Regions from separate parts of the Homo sapiens genome. Here region 1 is linked to region 2. The links are contacts of gene promoters, found by promoter capture Hi-C in blood cells and fetal thymus (Javierre and others, 2016). All regions are on one chromosome and are shown on one strand. Each heading gives the region's core, a stretch centred on a gene start or on the middle of the fragment in contact. The rest is flanking DNA. Distances are from core to core; before and after follow the strand shown. Region 1 holds the start of STX18 (syntaxin 18). Region 2 holds the start of WFS1 (wolframin ER transmembrane glycoprotein).

Region 1 (4,410 bases), core at 1,177-3,676, 1.7 Mb before region 2:
GTGAGATGGAAATCTGGCATCAGGCATATATTTGAGGAATGGAATGGAAGAATAGAAATTGAACCAGATAAAACGCATCCTAGAAGTAACAGCAAATGCTTCAAGGAAGGCACTTACCAAAAGGCATACTATAACTTATTACATTTCATTAAGTCTGACAACCAGGGCTAAACCTGAATTAGAATATGTGCTTCTGGTATTTACCAGACTTTTCTCTATAAGGAATCCAGGCCAAACAAAATAACAGCCAAACTTTTGACATCTAATTGTAGTAAAAGCACAGGACATCCATCACTAGCTCTTCTAGTTAAACTTCCCACAAGAGAAGATGGGGAGTGGGGAACGGTTGCAAGAACAGGAGATAATACACAAAGCAATGACAACATAAAATCAAAATTGCTTAAAAGAATGTATGTTTCCTCTACGTCAGGGGGACAGTGTCCCTGAACAACACAGCCCATGAACTCACTTAAGGTGATGTGACACCTACTCACATCAATACATAGCAGAACTGCAAGTTGCATTGTCATGCGGTCCAACCCTGTGACATATGCACAAAGCTTTTCTCAAACATCTCTGAAAAGCAGTCATCACTCTGTTTAATCACTTCCAGTGACAGGGAACTCAGCACCCTATGGGACTGTTACTGTCCCTGAGGCCCATTAACTCAAAACTCAAACACATTTTCACCACTCAGGGAGAGGTGGAAGTGATCACAGGGCTCTCCAAAGGGCTTGCCAACCCAACTGTGCCTCCTGTCTCTACCATTCCCAAATCCCCCCTTTCCCTGAGCAGGACTCAAAATTAGCACAGTGTTAATAAATCAGTGGTTTCAGAGTTAGAAGGGACCCTTAAAAAGCCAATACTGTGATATTCATACCACAGTTCTACAAAAGGAATCTCAAGAAGTGCTTGGGCCAAACTGGGAGGGAGAGTGTCCTGTTTCTCTTCCTCTTATTTCAACCTAGGAAGCTCCCACTTTAATTTGTTACATATAGAGGACCAAGGTAGTTTTTTAAAAGGAGGAGGAGAAAAAAAGGACCATTTACAGGTAAATAAACTGAGGTCTTAAAACTTGCTTAATGAAATCATATAGCTAATAGTTGCAGGGTTCAGACAACAACCTCGTCTCTTGGCTCCTTCTCTGGTGCTTTCTCTACCAGATAACATCTGACCATCTACAGGGCAAAATTCAAACTCTGCAATGATACACAAAGCCCTTTAAGATCTCCGCGTCCAATTTTTATGAGAGTCCCACATTCCAGTCTCACTCAAATGTTTATTGAACCAACTTATGTCAGACTGTTACCTACCTCCACAGCTTAGCGCATACTATTCTCTTAGCCTGAGATGTCCTTCTGCACTGGAACCAACTAATCCTCTTTCAAGATTTGTTTTAGGCATCATCGCCTCTATAAAGCCTTTTCTGGTCCTCAGGTAGAACTGACCACATTCTTTTTGTGCCCTACACAACACCTGCAAGGCTTTATGGCACTTGTTTTATGTCTATGTCCGTCTACTCCACCACTGCTTTTACATCATATTACTCTAACACGAGGCTGGTCAGAAGGTAGGTGCTTCATAGACGGTCATCAATAGGGCGAGTGTATTCATCTGGTCCAATCCCCTTTCTAATGTTTAAGTATCCTCTGCTAACTGTCATTAATGCATGCATGACTACATTCATTCAAAAATATCTGAGTGTCTATACAGTGCCAAGTGTATGCCAAGCAGAGAAGGATTTACTGTGAAATTAATGAGGCTTAAGCTTTAGGGTCCCTCTCTTCAATCTTCCAAAGCTCTGAATCTTTCTTGGTGATTTTTATTTCTTGAAGAGGGCAGACAGAACTATATAAGCTGTAGGCCCCACAAAACCTAGATACCTCCTTGGTGTCACGAACACAAAAGGGAACAAGACAAACAGCTCTCCCCTTATGGAGTTTTCTGTTTAATGGGAAAGACAGCCATTTGTTCATTCACTCATTCAACAAACATTTACTAAGCAATGCTATGAGTCATGCATTCTGAGATGAAAACAACACTGTCCCTGCCCTTAAGGAAAAGGTTCCTGTTCCCAGGGAGATGAAGGGACACCTGCTCTGATCAGGGAACAGAAAGTAGTTGAGGTGACTGTAACACTGTGTTTGCGAAAGATTACCCTAAACCCGTCTCAAGAGGAACTGAGTCCTACTTATTGCAGAGACAAAGGGAAGAAAGAGTTCGGCTGAATACAGTTTTTAATCTCAACTAGGGGTGGGAGGCAGACAAGTAAATAGAACAGGCAAATATGGTGTGGTCAGTGCTGCAACAGGAAGCGAAGGACTGTCAGGAGGTTTCCCCTGAGTGCAAGTCTGTAGTGACGGCGAACTCATGACCTCACAAAGCCGCCCATGCACTTTCCAGATAGAGATTTCTGAGGATCTCCTTTCTTGTCCCCCAATCCCTGTCGCCGCAGGAGAAATCTGTTCCCCAATATGCGTCCCCCTTCCTCAAAATAAGGCTGTTCCTTCCCCCAAAAAGCTGTAGGGTCTCTGAGGCCAACTCTTCTGTCCCCCTTAGAGCCACCCCCTTCACACAATGCTTACGGGACGGGGTCTGGTTTGGGGCCCGGGGTCCCTGTCGCAGGACTGCCCCCTCCTCAACCCGCCGTTTCCATAGCAACCAGCTCACCACTTCGCGGGCCCGGCTGGAGAAGTCGCCCTTGGGCCGGGGGCTCCGGCGGAACAGCTCGTCCCGGCTGCCATCGACCCCGCCGCCCACCGCCACTCCCAGCGCCTTGTTCCGCGTCTTCACGGTCTTGACGCTGGCCCGGAATAGCAGCGTGATGTCCACCGCCATAGCGACCCGCACCCTCAGCCCCACACTAGGCCCGCCCACGTAAGCAGCCGGCGACCGCGGCGCGAACCCGGCCGCTGAAGGACTGGTCCTGCCCCACACGCCTCCCCCCGGCAACGGCGACGCGAGAAGAAAGGTTCCGGCCTGCGCCCTGCTACCGCGGCGGGAGGAAAAAGGTTCCGGCCTCAGCCGGCGCACCTGGCGGAGGAGGAACCTCGCGACGCGCTCTCGGGCATCGGTTTCTCCCAGCAAAGCTTGGAGGGTTTAGCTGCGCGGAGAGCTCAGCGAGCTCTTCTGTGTCTGTTTGGGGCGTGTGGGCTCCGGGAGCGTGAGGACCGGGAAGCTAGGAGGCTCCTTCCCTTCTGGCGGCTCCCTCACTGAGACCGGGCGGTTTGGTTGCGGGGGAAGTGGAGACGAGCCACCCTTGACCTTTGACTGCAAGAACTCACCTTGAGCAGGATAGAGGCACGTGGACGGTGACCCTCGGGATGCAATAAATGCTGAGACAGATCAGGTGTGCAAGGCACAGAGCTAGAGGCCAGAGGCCTTTCTTCTCCAACCTTCAGTCACCTCTTTTTAAAGTGAAGCCAGCATCCTCCTCGGGGTTTACTGTGAAAATTAAGTGAGCTGACGCGTGCTGTGTTTTGATGTTGCTTGGCTCCTAGTAAGTGGCCAATAAATGGTAGTAATCGTTAATAATGTTATTATTATAATCACTGTTATTTGTGGTAAAGGAAGAGGCTTTAGAGAAAAGGCGTCACCTGTGCAGAGATTTGAAGGATGAATAGGAAGTTTAGATGGAGACAAAGGTGAAAGAGTGGCCCTAATGCCGCTGGATTCTCTTCATCCTTCATGCATAGTTTTTAATTGTACCGTCTTGAGCCATAGCTATTAAAATTGACAACTCAATCAATGAGTTTCTTCTGCATTTTAGGTTCATGTTCTGTTTTGTGTTGTTTTTTGAGACGGGGGTCTACTATGTTGCCCAGGCTGGATTGCAGTGGCTAGTCAGAGGCGCCATCCTAGCTCACTACAGCTGGAACGCCAGGGCTCAAACGATCCTCCCGGACTCAGCCTCCTGAGTAGCTGGGACTATAGGCACGTGCAACCGTGCCTGGCCTATGGTTCAGTTTTAATTCAAAATCTCATTGATTTCTTCAAGATTTCTTTTTTCATAAAGAGGAAGCACAAGTAGAATATGTATTAAAACAGCAGTTTTAATGGTCATCAAGATAAAATTTTCACAATACTAAGATGTTATTTGCCTTTTCGCTCTGATTTTCTTATGAGTTGCATACAGTTGAGTTTGCTGGAGACTGTGATATTGCAACGGAGTAAATGCAGAACAGCTGTTTTCTATTAAGCCAGACTCCAAAAAAAGACTTTCAAAAACATCAAGTTTTTGTTTTGATTTCTCATATAGTAAATGTCGATAATGTCAATATAAACCAAAATTGTTTAGAGCCCTTAATAATTTTTAAGTGTGCAAAAGAGTTGAGACCAAAAGTTTGAGAACCACTGTGTTAAAAAAATAAAGTTTATCAGAAATAGATGTCAAGAAAGTATATATTTACC
Region 2 (4,464 bases), core at 1,610-4,109:
TGCTGTGATCTTCTACTTCTCAATATTTTTGGTGTGTTTCTTGTAAATAGCGCTTAACTGGACTTTAGTTTTTGCCCCAATCTTACAGACTTTGGATGGGAAATTCAGCCCATTCACCGTGTTACGAAGGCGGGTAGCCATGGCTTTATTTATTTTATCTCATCTTATGTTTACTATTATTAAGCTTATTGTTCTTGCTATTATTTACTTTCCCCCTTAATTTTGCTTCCTTACTCTCCCTCCACCCCTCCCCCAACTTCTACCTAGTAATTCAGGAGTTCTACTCTGCTTCTTTCCCGTGAGTTGCTACTTTCCAATTCCTGAGAGTCATAATTCAACCAATCTTTCCCTGATAATGTATTAAAAGTAAATGGTAATGAAGCCCCCTCCCCACCACCAATAAGGCTTTCCTTCCCCAGCTGAGAGTCATAATTAAACCAATCTTTCCCTGCTAATGTATTAAAAGTAAATGGTAATGAAGCACCCCTCCCAACCACCAATAAGGCTTTCCTTCCCCACTCACCAAATCAGATCCTTTTACTTCCTCCTTCTCCCCTCAACCAAATGTGATCTTAAAATATTCTGACTTCTCTGTGATAAGATTCTATTTTTTTTTTTAGTTCCAGGCTAATACAACTTTCTCTTGAAGCATGTAGCTTATGTTTTAAGAATCCTTATGTGGCACTGCTAGTACAAAATCACAGGCACATGTGGATTATCCATACTGTATATTTTGCAAGGGTCATTGCTTAACACCACTTCCTGTTCTGAGCGTTTGCTCTATCTTGAAATCTCTACTGTGATTGAACTGTCTCGGTGACGGGGGAACTCTGAATATCTTCCTCTGAAAGGGGACATCACTGAGGTCCTTTCTCTGTCTTGCCACAGTGGATATTTTCTCTCTTTTGTCCACATAGATGAATCCTGTAGTAGCCATGGTAAGGATCCTTGATCCTATCATCAGAGTCCCTGGACATTGCTCCAAAGTCCCCTAGGAACCACTTCAACTTTTCTCCCCTTAGATGTGACCTGTTCTTTCTGGAACTCTGCAAGACCGTCTCTTTATCCTTGGCATCTGGGATTTCCAGGGACACGTTCTCCTGGCACTTTGCTCACCTCTGTTTCCCCTCCAGCTCTTCCTGGAGTACCTGTCCTTTGTGCAATACACCTCCTGGAACTGTCTTTCCAGTCTCTGCTTTTTGTCCTGATGATTTTCATGTGCTTTTCCTCTACATCATGAAGCATTTACTCCACATTATCTTCCAGTTTGCTCATTTGTCCTCACCTCCACTCTTCTCTTTCTGAATTTGCCTGTTGCTTTTTCAGTCTCTTAGCTCCGTGGAGTATGTTCAGTGTTGCTGTGTTCTGATAGAGGCTCCTTAAGCCATCTTGTAGATTTTTTGTTGCACTTCCTCTCTTCCCTTAGACCTCCACAGGAGGAACTTTTCAATCTGTCCTCTTCTCTCTGCTTAATGAGCCCCTGCAAAGGGTTTGGGAAGTGCTTCAGCCTCTCTGTGATTGTGTGTTCACATTAATATTTATTATTTTCTTAAATGTGCATAAATCTCACAATGTGAACAGTGATCATCTTTGAGTGATTTTTTTTCTCCTTTCTACTTTTAGTAATTCTCCAAATTTTCTACAGTTAGTGTGTGATAAGGTGGAAAGACATCTTCAAGACTTTGGGCAAATAACTATGTCTGAGCCTCAATTTTCACATCAATAAAAAATGGGCTCAGTGCCACCTCCCTCCTTGGGTCACTAGGGGGGCCCTTGAAAGCTGTGAAAGCCCCTAAGCCAACCTGGACAGAGCAGGCGAGGCTGACGGCAGGTGTTCTTCCTTCCTCTGTGAGCCTCACAGGGTCACACGTGAACATTGGGGATCGGGGGTGGGCAGTGGGGGCAGCTGGAGAATCAAATGAGGTGACTGACATGAACTACGCCGCTTTGACAAAAGTCCTCCGAAGTAGTGTGTTCAGAACTCATCTCCAAAGCCATCTGGAATATTTGCTCCCAACATGTTGGTAAGCATTATCTCTGACAGTCACTCCGAGCCCCAGTTTCTGCTGTGATAACTAGGACAGGTAGCTCAGGTTGGTTGTGGGGACCAGAGACAGAGCAGGCAGGGTCTCACGTTCCCCAGGGCCTCTCAAGGATAGACCCTCGCCCTCATCTCCAAACCACGCCTCCCAGACAGGAACCAAACTCCCAGAGTCTCCAAACTGCCTGAGCCTTGCCCACTCCCTGGGCTAACACACACTTTAAAGGAATCCCACAGTCACCGTGTGAAAAGCTTGCTACACTGCATTTGATTCTGGGCACTGAAAGCAGTACTTGGCTGCAGACACTCGTTTCAAACAGGCCCCATTTTTCCATCTCTGCTGCTGTTATTAGGGGAGCCCTTAGACTCTCTTGCAGCGCCGGAATAGGCGCTCAAGACGTGTGTTAATATTGCAACAGCAAATATAATGAATCTGCAGTTGGGGACGCTGAGGCCGGAGTGGTGGATGAAAGGTGGCCGGAGCCTTTTCCACGGGTCCAAACCACCTGTTACAGGAGAAGGCGAGCGGCCTCGCTAAGCAACTGGACGTTCCGCGGGCGGGGCGGGGGCGGGGCCGGGGCCCGAGTCCGCTCGGAAACTTTCGCTGTGGGCGAGCCGGACCCGCCTTCTGGCCCCTCGGGCCCAACCACGCAGGGGGAGTGCCGGGCCGCAGCTAGGCGAGGCGCACCGTGATTGGCGGAGATGTGGAGTGATTGGCGGCTACACCGGCCACTCAGCAGGCCGAGCTGGCGCCGCATCCGGGGGGCCGCGTCTGGAGTGGAGGGAGGCCGAAGGCCCCGCCCCTGCCCCGCCCCCTCGTGCAGAAGGCCGCGCTAGCCGGCTCTTCAGCAGCGAGTGCAGATTGCTCCCCCGCGGCCGCAGATCTCCCGTTTGCGCCGCGTTCAGCTGCTCCCGAACAACTTTTCTGCCGGCCCAGAGGCCCCAGGGCGTCGCAGCGCCGCGTGCGGCCCACTCACGGGCCGGTGAGTACTTCGGCGCTGGGGCAGTGGCGCGGTGGCTGTGGGCAGCGCGCAGGAGGCGGGCAAGAGCCCTGAGGCACTGTCCTCTTCGGGCCTCAGTTTCCCCTTCCGAGCTGATGGGTGGCTGGCCCCAAAGTCCCGACAAGGTCCCCGAAGTTGGAGGGCCGGGGGTCCCGCCCGCTCTGCAACGCGCAAGGCGACCCCTGTTCCGGGCCCGAACGGGTCACCCGGGGGGCGCGCCCCGGTCCCCCGCGCGCTGTCGCCTGGAGCCCCGCCGCGGGCGGGACAGCAGGCCCGAGAGGCGGAGCGGCCGGCGGGCAGGCCCCCTCCCCGCGCCCCGCGCCATCCCCCCCGAGTTGCCCCGTCATGCCCCTCCCCCGCGGTCCCGGGACCCACGGCCGCCCTCGGTGCCCGCCCGGCCGTTGGAACGCGCCTGGGCCCCCGGGAGGTGTTGTGGGGGGGAAGGGGGGTTCAGTCCCCCAGGGGGACCCGGCCCGCCCGAGGGGCAGCTTAGGGGTCATTCTGAATCCCCACAGCCCACTTAGGAGCGCTGTGGCAGTTCCTCTCTCTCTCGGGGCCCCTCAGTAGAGAGTTGAGGGGTTTCAGTGGCAGCACCTGGACCCTGCCTCGTATGAACTCCACCCTCTGGATCATTAGCTTTTTGTTTGATCAACGAAAACTTTCTGGAGAATCCTACCCAGCCCTTTTGGATGTGATGGCGCCCTGGCCTCTCACCCACTTAGCAGATGATGTTATGAATTCCAAGGAAGTCGCATTTGTGCAACCCCCCACCACCCAGATTTAACCCTCTCAGTAGCCTTAGGCGGAGAAGTTATAGTCCCCGTTTGACACCCCAGGAAGCTGAGGCTCAGCAGGGTTTGGTGCCAGCCCAGGACCACGAAGCTGATGGGGCAGAGCCTGGTGTGAGGCCTCTGCCCTATCTCTCCAGAAGCAGCCCCGTCTCTCCTCACCTTGGACAGTGACCCCTGGCATTTGGCCCAGGGCTTTGCAGTTTGTAAAGGGCTTTCTCTTATGCCAGCATCCATCACTCAAGGAGCTGTGCCCTGGGTACCCCATGTGCTGGCTGCCTGTTCTCTGCAGCAGGAGAGGGAGCCCACGGGAAGCCCAGAGGCCACCTTTGTCACTGTCGCCACCTGTTTACTTCTGTGTCCAAGGGTCTGTGATTCCCATGGGGTCTCCGTTGTATCCAACCAGGGATTTGGAGGGAGGCTTCTCCACATTTCAGCCTCTTTTCCCTACCTGCTGGTTTGTCCTCCCTTCGCAGACACAGGAAAAGTTGGCTGGGAGACCCCATCTCACCTTCTTTCCCAGGATGGAAGAGCATGGAGGGCGTCTCTGACTTAGGCCTCCCCTGCCCATCCCGGACCAGTGCTGGACAGGCTTCTGGGGCTGGTCACAGAGGGGACCTCAGCTCAGTCTCAA

What was found. Contacts are between HindIII fragments. The CHiCAGO score rates a contact against its expected background, and 5 or more counts as called.
Region 1: a fragment that was not itself captured here is called in contact with the fragment with the promoter of WFS1 in region 2 in 1 of 17 cell types (non-activated CD4 T cells); the score reaches 5.4 in non-activated CD4 T cells.

The regions. Positions count from the first base shown.
Region 1 is chr4:4,539,127-4,543,536 of GRCh38, forward strand. It overlaps STX18 (syntaxin 18), which reads right to left and starts at 2,922. Exons shown (of 11, transcript NM_016930.4): 1 at 2,671-2,922. The coding sequence starts at 2,838. LOC124900165 reads left to right here and starts at 3,005. Exons shown (of 6, transcript XM_047416490.1): 1 at 3,005-3,349. It overlaps STX18-AS1 (STX18 antisense RNA 1 (head to head)), which reads left to right and starts at 3,005. Exons shown (of 6, transcript NR_037888.1): 1 at 3,005-3,349. RefSeq lists enhancers at 2,792-3,071, 2,796-3,090. The HindIII fragment of the contact is 1,321 bases long and covers 1,767-3,087 here.
Region 2 is chr4:6,266,991-6,271,454 of GRCh38, forward strand. It overlaps WFS1 (wolframin ER transmembrane glycoprotein), which reads left to right and starts at 2,860. Exons shown (of 8, transcript NM_006005.3): 1 at 2,860-3,024. RefSeq lists a silencer at 2,838-2,947. The HindIII fragment of the contact is 3,425 bases long and covers 2,292-4,464 here.